Regions from separate parts of the Homo sapiens genome. Here region 1 is linked to region 2. The links are contacts of gene promoters, found by promoter capture Hi-C in human tissues and cell types (Jung and others, 2019). All regions are on one chromosome and are shown on one strand. Each heading gives the region's core, a stretch centred on a gene start or on the middle of the fragment in contact. The rest is flanking DNA. Distances are from core to core; before and after follow the strand shown. Region 1 overlaps RNF185 (ring finger protein 185). Region 2 holds the start of PLA2G3 (phospholipase A2 group III).

The links. Contacts are between HindIII fragments. The study calls those that stand out against the background at their distance.
Region 1: a fragment that was not itself captured here is called in contact with the fragment with the promoter of PLA2G3 in region 2 in 1 of the 25 tissues and cell types used here (bladder).

Annotation. Positions count from the first base shown.
Region 1 is chr22:31,174,615-31,178,986 of GRCh38, reverse strand. The region is part of intron 1 of RNF185 (ring finger protein 185); the gene reads right to left. Among named protein-coding and RNA genes, the nearest start is that of RNF185, 17 kb to the right of the region's middle. The HindIII fragment of the contact is 4,593 bases long and covers 1-3,553 here.
Region 2 is chr22:31,137,831-31,142,075 of GRCh38, reverse strand. PLA2G3 (phospholipase A2 group III) reads left to right here and starts at 1,568. Exons shown (of 7, transcript NM_015715.5): 1 at 1,568-2,235; 2 at 3,277-3,409; 3 at 3,666-3,800; 4 at 4,083-4,245. The coding sequence starts at 1,722. RefSeq lists enhancers at 946-1,505, 1,506-2,064, 3,782-4,245. The HindIII fragment of the contact is 19,816 bases long and covers 1-4,245 here.

The sequences.
Region 1 (4,372 bases), core at 8-2,507, 37 kb before region 2:
AGGACTGCCTAAGGCCAGGACACCACGCAATGCCAAATTCAGACTTCCTAACACAATATTCAGCACTCTCTTCATTCTTATGTTTTTCTATTAACATGCTGCTTTACAAAATTAAATACCTGGTTTTTGTCTTCCCTCAAATTTATCGTGCAATGTTGTAACTTTTGTGCTGTTTGAAATGAGTACAGAGTAAATTAATCACTCATCCACTTATTCATTCAACCAACCAGCAGTTTTCCAATGCCAATTACATTTGAGGTCTGGTGCTACCAACTGTGGAGGAGTTACAAAGAGGAATAAGACCAAGTTGAGGTCTTGGAGTCTAGTACAGGAGCTGAAGGCACATAGATTAATTTTAAGAATTCTAAACAAGGGGCTCCATCAAACTCACCTGTTTTTCCTTTCGTTGTTGTTTTTGCCTGTTTTTCTTAAACAAAGCATCCTCTCACCCCACGAAAGATCTGGTTCCCAGATCCCTTCAGAGATTTAAATAGGATCTGGACCTAGATCAGGCCTAAGAATCTGTATGCTTTTAATGTAGCCCTCACTTTCTACCCTAGATGATTCTCTAATTAACAGAGTTTTGGAAACCCAGCTCTAGAAGAGGGTACAGCTCTATCAATAGCACAAAGCAATACCAACAAAATACAGTATTTTAGAAGGACAGAAACCTCAGGGCCTATCCAGCTACAATCCACAGGGACTACAGAGAGGTCAGATAAACTTGGGGGGTAAGGGACAAATCTGCTGAATTCAGATTAATCAGCATTTAGTCCAACTGGAACACAGCTGATCATTTTAAGAAATAAGTTCACACCTAGTTTTAAAAAACAGTCCTAACTTTGAGATGTCCAGGGCAACACATGTGGTGCTGGGACTAACGCGGATTTGCAATACTTAATGATCCTGTAGGAACACAGAGCCTGGCGGCTGAAGTTGACTGACCCAGTATCTTCAATATATTACCTTCCCAGAGCTGGCCTTTGGTCTACTTGGTCTGGCCCACCTCACAGGAATTGAGCAAGAAAGAGAACACGAGAGTTGAATATCCCTGCAGGAACCACCAGGGAACTTGATCTCATGAGGAAATTTCTCTGTAGCATTCTTAAATTCAATTATCAAGTTCTAGAGAACTGTAGGAATTCATCATCTGCCTTTTCTGTCCCTTTAACTCCAAGAATTTCTAGACCAGGGTGTAGTGAGACACCTAGAAATGTTAATCTTAGATATGAAGACTATGAATTTGGGTGATAAATAACAGGCATGATCCCAGCAGAGGTCTCATTTCTGTGAGCACATGCTTATTCACACAGAAGCTTTCTGCCAGGAACCCTGGCATGCCTGAGCCTGTCTACGCTGCTCATTAGACTGCTGCTGGACCACACGTAGGCAGAAATGGGACCTGCATTCCAAGAATGTCTACATCACACTCATAGAAGGCTGGAATGGGAAGAACTCTGAATAAGTTTATTGGAACTTGGAAACACATAAACCAGCTTTGAAATTTTAAAGTCTAAGTGGTGTTTAGGTTCCTAGGCTAGCCCATGGAGATTTGGCCCTCAAATACAGGATCAGAAGAACAGAGAAGGCTGAAAGGACTGGCTTCTTTTCATTGGGGCTGCACTGGTCCTTTTCTCTGGTTCCCTCTAATCTTCCTATCTACTTAGTAGATAGGAATGAATCTTCAAAGATTCATTAAAGATCCTATTATTTGCCAGGCATTCAAGATACAGAAATAAAACTTTTTTTTCAGTCTAAAGGGAGACACAGACAAGTGAACCAACAAGGCAACCCAGTGTACTGGGAACTGACAGAAGTGTGTACATAGTACCTGAAGACAGGGAATGCTGGGGAGGATGTAGACACAGTACAAGGAACAAGTGCATAATTCATGGTAAGGCAGCAAGGGCTGGGACTAAGGGAAGAAGAAAAGCCTTTGACTCTCAGTGCCCTTCAGCCCTGGCCTGCCTGGCTCACATACCCTATAGGGTACCTAACCCAGATCTGCCTAACCTTCCAAAGGGCTCCATGATTTTAACGTCTCTTTTTCTCCCCAACTAGCTCCCATTACCTGGTTAAATAAACTGGTACGTCCACATAATAGATTACACAGCCACTAAAAATAATGCTTCCACAGAGATTTTGCTTACGTAGGAATTTCAATTACATGACATAATGTTAAGTGAAAAAAACAGGATGGGCTGGACACGGTGGCTCACGCCTGCAATCTCAGCAGTTTGGGAGGCTGAGGCAGGCGGATCACGAGGTCAGGAGATCGAGACCATCCTGGCTAACACGGTGAAACCCCGTCTCTACTAAAAATACAAAAAATTAGCCGGGCATGGTGGCGGGCACCTGTAGTCCCAGCAACTCGGGAGGCTGAGGCAGGAGAATGGTGTGAACCTGGGAGGCGGAGCTTACAGTGAGCTGAGATCGCACCACTACACTCCAGCCTGGGTGACAGAGCAAGACTCTGTCTAAAAAAAAAAAAAAAAGAAAAAGAAAAAAGCAGGATGTAAAATTGTATACAAAGTTGAATATATATGTGGCCAGGTGCGGTGGGTCATACCTGCATTCCTAGCACTTTGGGAGGCTGAGGCAGGAAGATTGCTTGAGCCCAGGATTTGGAGCAGCTGGGAGTCTGACACAGGAGAATTGCTTGAACCTGGGAGGGAGAGGCTGCAGCGAGCCCACTGCACTCCAGCCTGGGCGACAGAGCGAGATTCTGTCTCAAAAAAAAAAAAAATTGAATTTATTTGTTATCAGCAGGTTAAAAAGATACCAAAAAAAGAGGTCAAAAATATTAACTGTAGTAGTCTCCGGACAGTGGACTTATGGACAAATTTCTTAAGCTTTAAAAAATACTTACATGTACTTGCCACCTTTTCCATAGTGAGTACTCTGTTAATACTCAGGAGAAAATAGGCCAAGCATGGTGGCTCACATCTGTAATCCTAGCACTTTGGGAGGCCAAGATGGGAGGATTGGTTGAGGCCAGGAGTTCGAGACCAGCCTGGTCAACACAGAGAGCTCCCATCTCAAATTACAAAATAAAAGATGTGAAAGGTCCAATACCTTCAGATCTCAGTAGAGAACAAAAAGGAAACCAATCTGAATTAAGTACATTCACAACTGAGGTGTGAATGGTCCTTAGAATAATAATCATCTCAGAAATTTTAACAATTTTAATTTTATGAATTTATTTTTTTAATAAGTAACACGTTTACATGGCTCAAAATTCAATAGGTACAACAAAAGGATATAGGCTGAAAAGTCTCTCCCTATCCCTGGAACCCAACAGCCCTGTTTTCTACCTTCAAGACTGCTTGACTATATTATTAGTATAAACCCTAGAAGTAGAACTGCAGGGTCAAAGTATTTATATTTGTAACTTTGAGACAGTGCTGAATACCCCCAGGGAAGATGTGCCAATTTATATTCCTATGAGAAATACATAAGACATTTGTTTCCCTAAGTCCTTGACAATGACATGTATGTTTTCCAAAAGATGATATATGGCTTTTTTTTTTTTTTGAGACAGTTTCACTCTTGTTGCCCAGGATGGAGTGCAATGGCGTGATCTCGGCTCACTGCAACCTCCACCTACCGGGTTCAAGCAATTCTCCTGCATCAGCCTCCTGAGTAGCTGGGATTACAGCTGTGCGCCACCACATCCAGCTAGTTTTTTGTTTGTTTGTTTGTAGAGATGGGGTTTCGCCATGCTGCCCAGGCTGGTCTTGAACTCCTGGGCTCAAGCAATCCACCTGCCTCAGCCTTGGCCTCCCAAATTGCTGAGATTACAGGCAATCAGCCACCAAGCCCAGAGATAACACATATCTGAGTGGGGATTCTAGAGCCAGCTGTTCCTACTTTTTCACATTTTCGTCCACTACTTTTTTTTTTTTTTTTTAATTTGAGACGGAGGCTCGCTCTGTCGCCCAACTGAAGTGCAACGGCGCGATCTCGGCTCACCGCAACCTCTGCCTCCTGGGTTCAAGCGATCCTCCCATCTCAGCCTCCCAAGTAGCTAGGATTACAGGCACCCGCCACCACACCCAACTAATTTTTTTGGTATTTTTCGTAGAGGCCGAGTTTCAGCATGTTGGTCAAGCTGGTCTCGAACTCCTGACCTCAGGTGATCCGCCCACCTCGGCCTCCCAAAGTGCTGGGATTACAGGCATGAGCCACCACACCCAGCCTCTTCCATTATTTTTAAATACAAAGAATGTTTTGTTCATTTGTTGGGTTTTAAGCTTCAATTATTTTTGAAAAATTACCATGTTTCATTTTTAAAAAAGGACAAAATGGAGGACAAGAATGGTGGCTCACTCCTGTAATCTTAGCACTTTGGGAGGCCGAGGCAGGAGGATCA
Region 2 (4,245 bases), core at 319-2,818:
CCTAGGGTCTGTGTGGAAACCTAAGCTGGACCTGTCTGACCTCGAAAGCTTGGCTCCTCGTATCCTACCTCCCAGCCTCCCCAGGTGATGGGCAGGGAAGGGCTCAGCAATGTGGAAAAGGGGGCAGAGGTGGGTGGCAGTTCCTATGATGGGAGGAAGTCTCAGCATGATGATTTTTCAAACATCACAACTCTTCACAGAAGGACTCACCTTTGTTCAGCTACATCCTTGCCCTTGGGGACCCCAGGTCTACCTCCTCTGCCACCACTCGCTGTATTCCACACCCCCTTTCTCAACCTCTGGCAAGAAGGCGCTTGGTCCCTGGACTAGCCCTACCCTCTTTCCCTTCTCTTCATTGTTCCCAGCTATGATGCTTTGAGCCACAGGCCCAGGCTGGTTCTGAAGCTACAGAGATGGACCTGCCCACCCTGCAGCCCCCTTCCCCCTCTGCCACACAGTGAGCTCTCCTTCCCCAGCTCTGCCCCTGGCTTTACCTCACTGGGGCTCATCCCCTGGAAGAGACTCAGATGGAGCCTGGGGCAGGGGGAGGCTGGAGAAGCAGCAGGCTAATGGGCAGATGGAAGACAGACAAGTCACTGTCCTGGCCAGCCCTGACTCCCATCCAGATCCCCAAGCGCTGCATTCCCATCCTCTAAGCCCTCCCCAGCTGGAGCCTGTCACCTGAGGTTTTCCCACCCTCACTGAGCCTCAGTTTCTTCATCTGCACTATGGGTGTAAGCACCCTGGCCTCACTAGATGGTTGGAAGCTGGGCTTTGGGATCCAGGAACAATACCTGGGTATAGCCCCTTCCTGATGGAGAGATTCCTGTCTCATGAGGCACACATGATGCCTGCTGTGTCCCCCCAGGTGGCCAGGGATGGAGGTGGCCACAGACATACACCCTGGGCCACTCTCTGCCACTCTAGGGACCATAGTTCTTTCAAATCCAGAGCATCAGCCCTGCCCTGTGTGGCTCTCAAGGCCTGTTCCCGCTGCGTCTCCCCCAGTTATCAGACCAGGAGGGTTGCTGCAAGGCCAGGCCCATGCTTGGAGTCCTAGGAAGCGGGGAGCCCTGGGGCTCTGTCCCCTGAGTATGCCGAGAGCCTTTCTAAGAACCAGGACTTGGCAGGGGAGCACCCCAGGTGGCACTCCCTTTCCCAGAAGCCTTGGGAACTCCCAGGGTGGTAGCTTCAGAGCCCCAGCCCTTCCTTCACCCAGCCCTGGCAGAGGCCCATGGCCCCCTGCCAGCCTGATGGAGGTGGATGTGGCAGCCACCGCTGTGGTAAGGGTGAGAAGGGTGGGTTCTAAGGGACTCCTCCAAGCTCCTGAACCCTTTTCCTTCCCTTCAAGGAGATGTGAAAGCCCCAGCCTGGTCCCCATCCCACAGCTTAGGGCTTTGGCTCCCATAGTCCCAATCTAGGCAGGGCTGGCAGCAGGTGACTGGATGGTGCTGAGAAGGCAGGCAGAATGGGGGCGTGGGCCCTGGCAAGTGCACTCCTCAGCCAATCAGCGTCCTGCCCGGCTGGTGGATTCGGTTACAAGCCCAAGATCACCCCATACTCCAGCCTCTTTCCTCCTCCTCCCGCAGCTCCATTCATTGGTCCCGCCGCACCGGGCCTGCTGGGCTCCGCTTCCGTTCCACTGCTCAGCTGCCGCCTGGTGGGGCCACCAAGGGCAGGCATCCCAGGGGCTTTGTCTGACTGGACTGGGCCAGTGCAGAATGGGGGTTCAGGCAGGGCTGTTTGGGATGCTGGGCTTCCTGGGGGTGGCCCTGGGGGGCTCCCCTGCCCTCCGCTGGTACAGGACCTCCTGCCACTTGACCAAGGCCGTCCCTGGCAACCCACTGGGGTACCTGAGCTTCCTGGCCAAGGATGCTCAGGGACTGGCCCTGATCCATGCCCGCTGGGATGCGCATAGGAGGCTGCAGTCATGTAGCTGGGAGGATGAGCCGGAGCTCACCGCAGCCTACGGTGCTCTCTGTGCTCATGAGACTGCCTGGGGCTCCTTCATCCACACCCCCGGACCCGAGCTGCAGAGAGCACTGGCCACTCTTCAGAGTCAGTGGGAGGCATGCCGAGCGCTTGAGGAGAGTCCAGCAGGGGCCAGGAAGAAGCGAGCAGCAGGGCAGAGTGGAGTCCCTGGTGGAGGGCACCAGCGAGAGAAGAGAGGATGGACCATGCCTGGCACACTGTGGTGTGGAGTTGGAGATTCTGCTGGGAACTCCTCGGAGCTGGGTGAGCCATGAGGGGTGTGTGGGCTGGGGGGTCCGATCGGGGAAGCAAGGTTTCTTCAGCCCCAGCCCTTACTCTCCTAGGCTGTGTGTCCCTGGGGGAGTGACTTGACCATGGTGAACCTCAATTTCCTTATCTGTAAAGTGGGGGCAATCACGAATCTCATCATGGGGTGCTTAAATGAGGTCACGGTTGGGGAAAGTCTTATTCAAACCTGGGAGTCCTCATTAAATGCCATCCGAGGGACTGGGCAGGCTGGGGGAGGATCCAGGGTCAACTGAGCCAAAAAGCCATTACCCAGGAGGAGGCTTTGTGGGCACGGGGTGCCCAGTGGAATGGATGCTGAGACGAAAGGCCTGGGTTCAAATCCCAACTCAGCACATACAAGCTGAGCAAGTCACTTCCCCTCTCTGGACTTATTTCCTCACCTGTAAAATGAAGGTGATACCTCCCTTTCAGGGCTGGCTGTGAACCTGGATGTGGGAAGTGCCAGGCATGTGGGAAATGCTTAGTAAAGAGTGCTATTTTTTAGATGGTAATAAACATAGATGAATTTCTTGCACTATCAGTACAGATGTCTGTGCGTTTGTGTGCAGGGTTGGGGGAGGGCTTGGCACCTGAGTCAGAGTAGGTTGGCATCCTGGCGACACCTCCTTGTGCCAGTGAGAAAGGTTGCACCCTGCCTGTTTGCCATTCCATCATACACACATTCATAATTTTGGAGTTTTATTTGGGGCGTGGGCTTGGGAACTCTGGAGGCAGACTCCAATTCCCCTGAGGAAGACCTTTCCATGTATTTATGGGTGGGCTACCTGGCATTTAGAGTTGCCCAACAGAGGCTGCAGCTTGGCTTCTCTTTTCCAGCTTTGAAACTCTGAGAGTCCCACAGAAGGGAGAGTGACTGGTCTGAGGACCCTCATGGCGTTTGTGTCAGGGCTGGGGTGAGAACCAGGTCTCTGCCCTCTTCCTACCAGGGGGGCATAGCTGGTGCATGATGCCTAGGACCCTGCTGAGTTGGTGCCCTCTCCCCTCCCCTCCCTGCAGGGGTCTTCCAGGGACCTGATCTCTGTTGCCGGGAACATGACCGCTGCCCACAGAACATCTCACCCTTGCAGTACAACTATGGCATCCGAAACTACCGATTCCACACCATCTCCCACTGTGACTGTGACACCAGGTTGGTGGCAGGCAGCGAGGGCCCAGAGCTCAGGGACAGGGCAGAGTTACCCAGTTCCTGGGTAACTAGACATTGGGATTGCAGAGGATCTTAAAGCTCAGCCAGCTTGGACCCCACAGTGCAGGTAGGAAAGCTGAGGCCAGAAAGAAGGGATGCTTGGACCCCAAACCACCCAGCTGGTAGTGGCACAGTGGGCTGTGGGAGGAGCCAGACAGCCCTCCATGCCCCAGGGTCCTGGGTATCTGTTCTGGGGCAGGTTTCAGCAATGCCTACAGAATCAGCACGACTCCATCTCGGACATCGTGGGCGTGGCCTTCTTCAACGTGCTGGAGATCCCCTGCTTTGTGCTGGAGGAGCAGGAGGCGTGTGTGGCGTGGTACTGGTGGGGCGGGTACGTGGCCACCCCCTCATGTCCCTTTCCAGACAGAGAGGGAGCCCAGGCTCCAAGCCTGGTGAGGGAGAGCTATCTGTCTGTCTGTCTTCCAGGGAATGATGTCCCATCCTGCATGTCCTCTCCTGAGGGCCCGGGATGCAGACCCTCCTTGGGTGTCCCCCACAACCCAGCGGGATGGGGGATGGGACTGGCAGAGCATTGATCTCCATGGAGACGACCCTGGGGGCTTCTGGAAGGGGGATTCCCAGTCACCAATTTCCACCAACTGCCACCACCCAGGTGTAGGATGTACGGCACAGTGCCCCTCGCTCGCCTGCAGCCCAGGACCTTCTACAATGCCTCCTGGAGCTCCCGGGCCACCTCCCCAACTCCCAGCTCCCGGAGCCCAGCCCCTCCCAAGCCTCGACAGAAGCAGCACCTTCGGAAGGGGCCACCACATCAG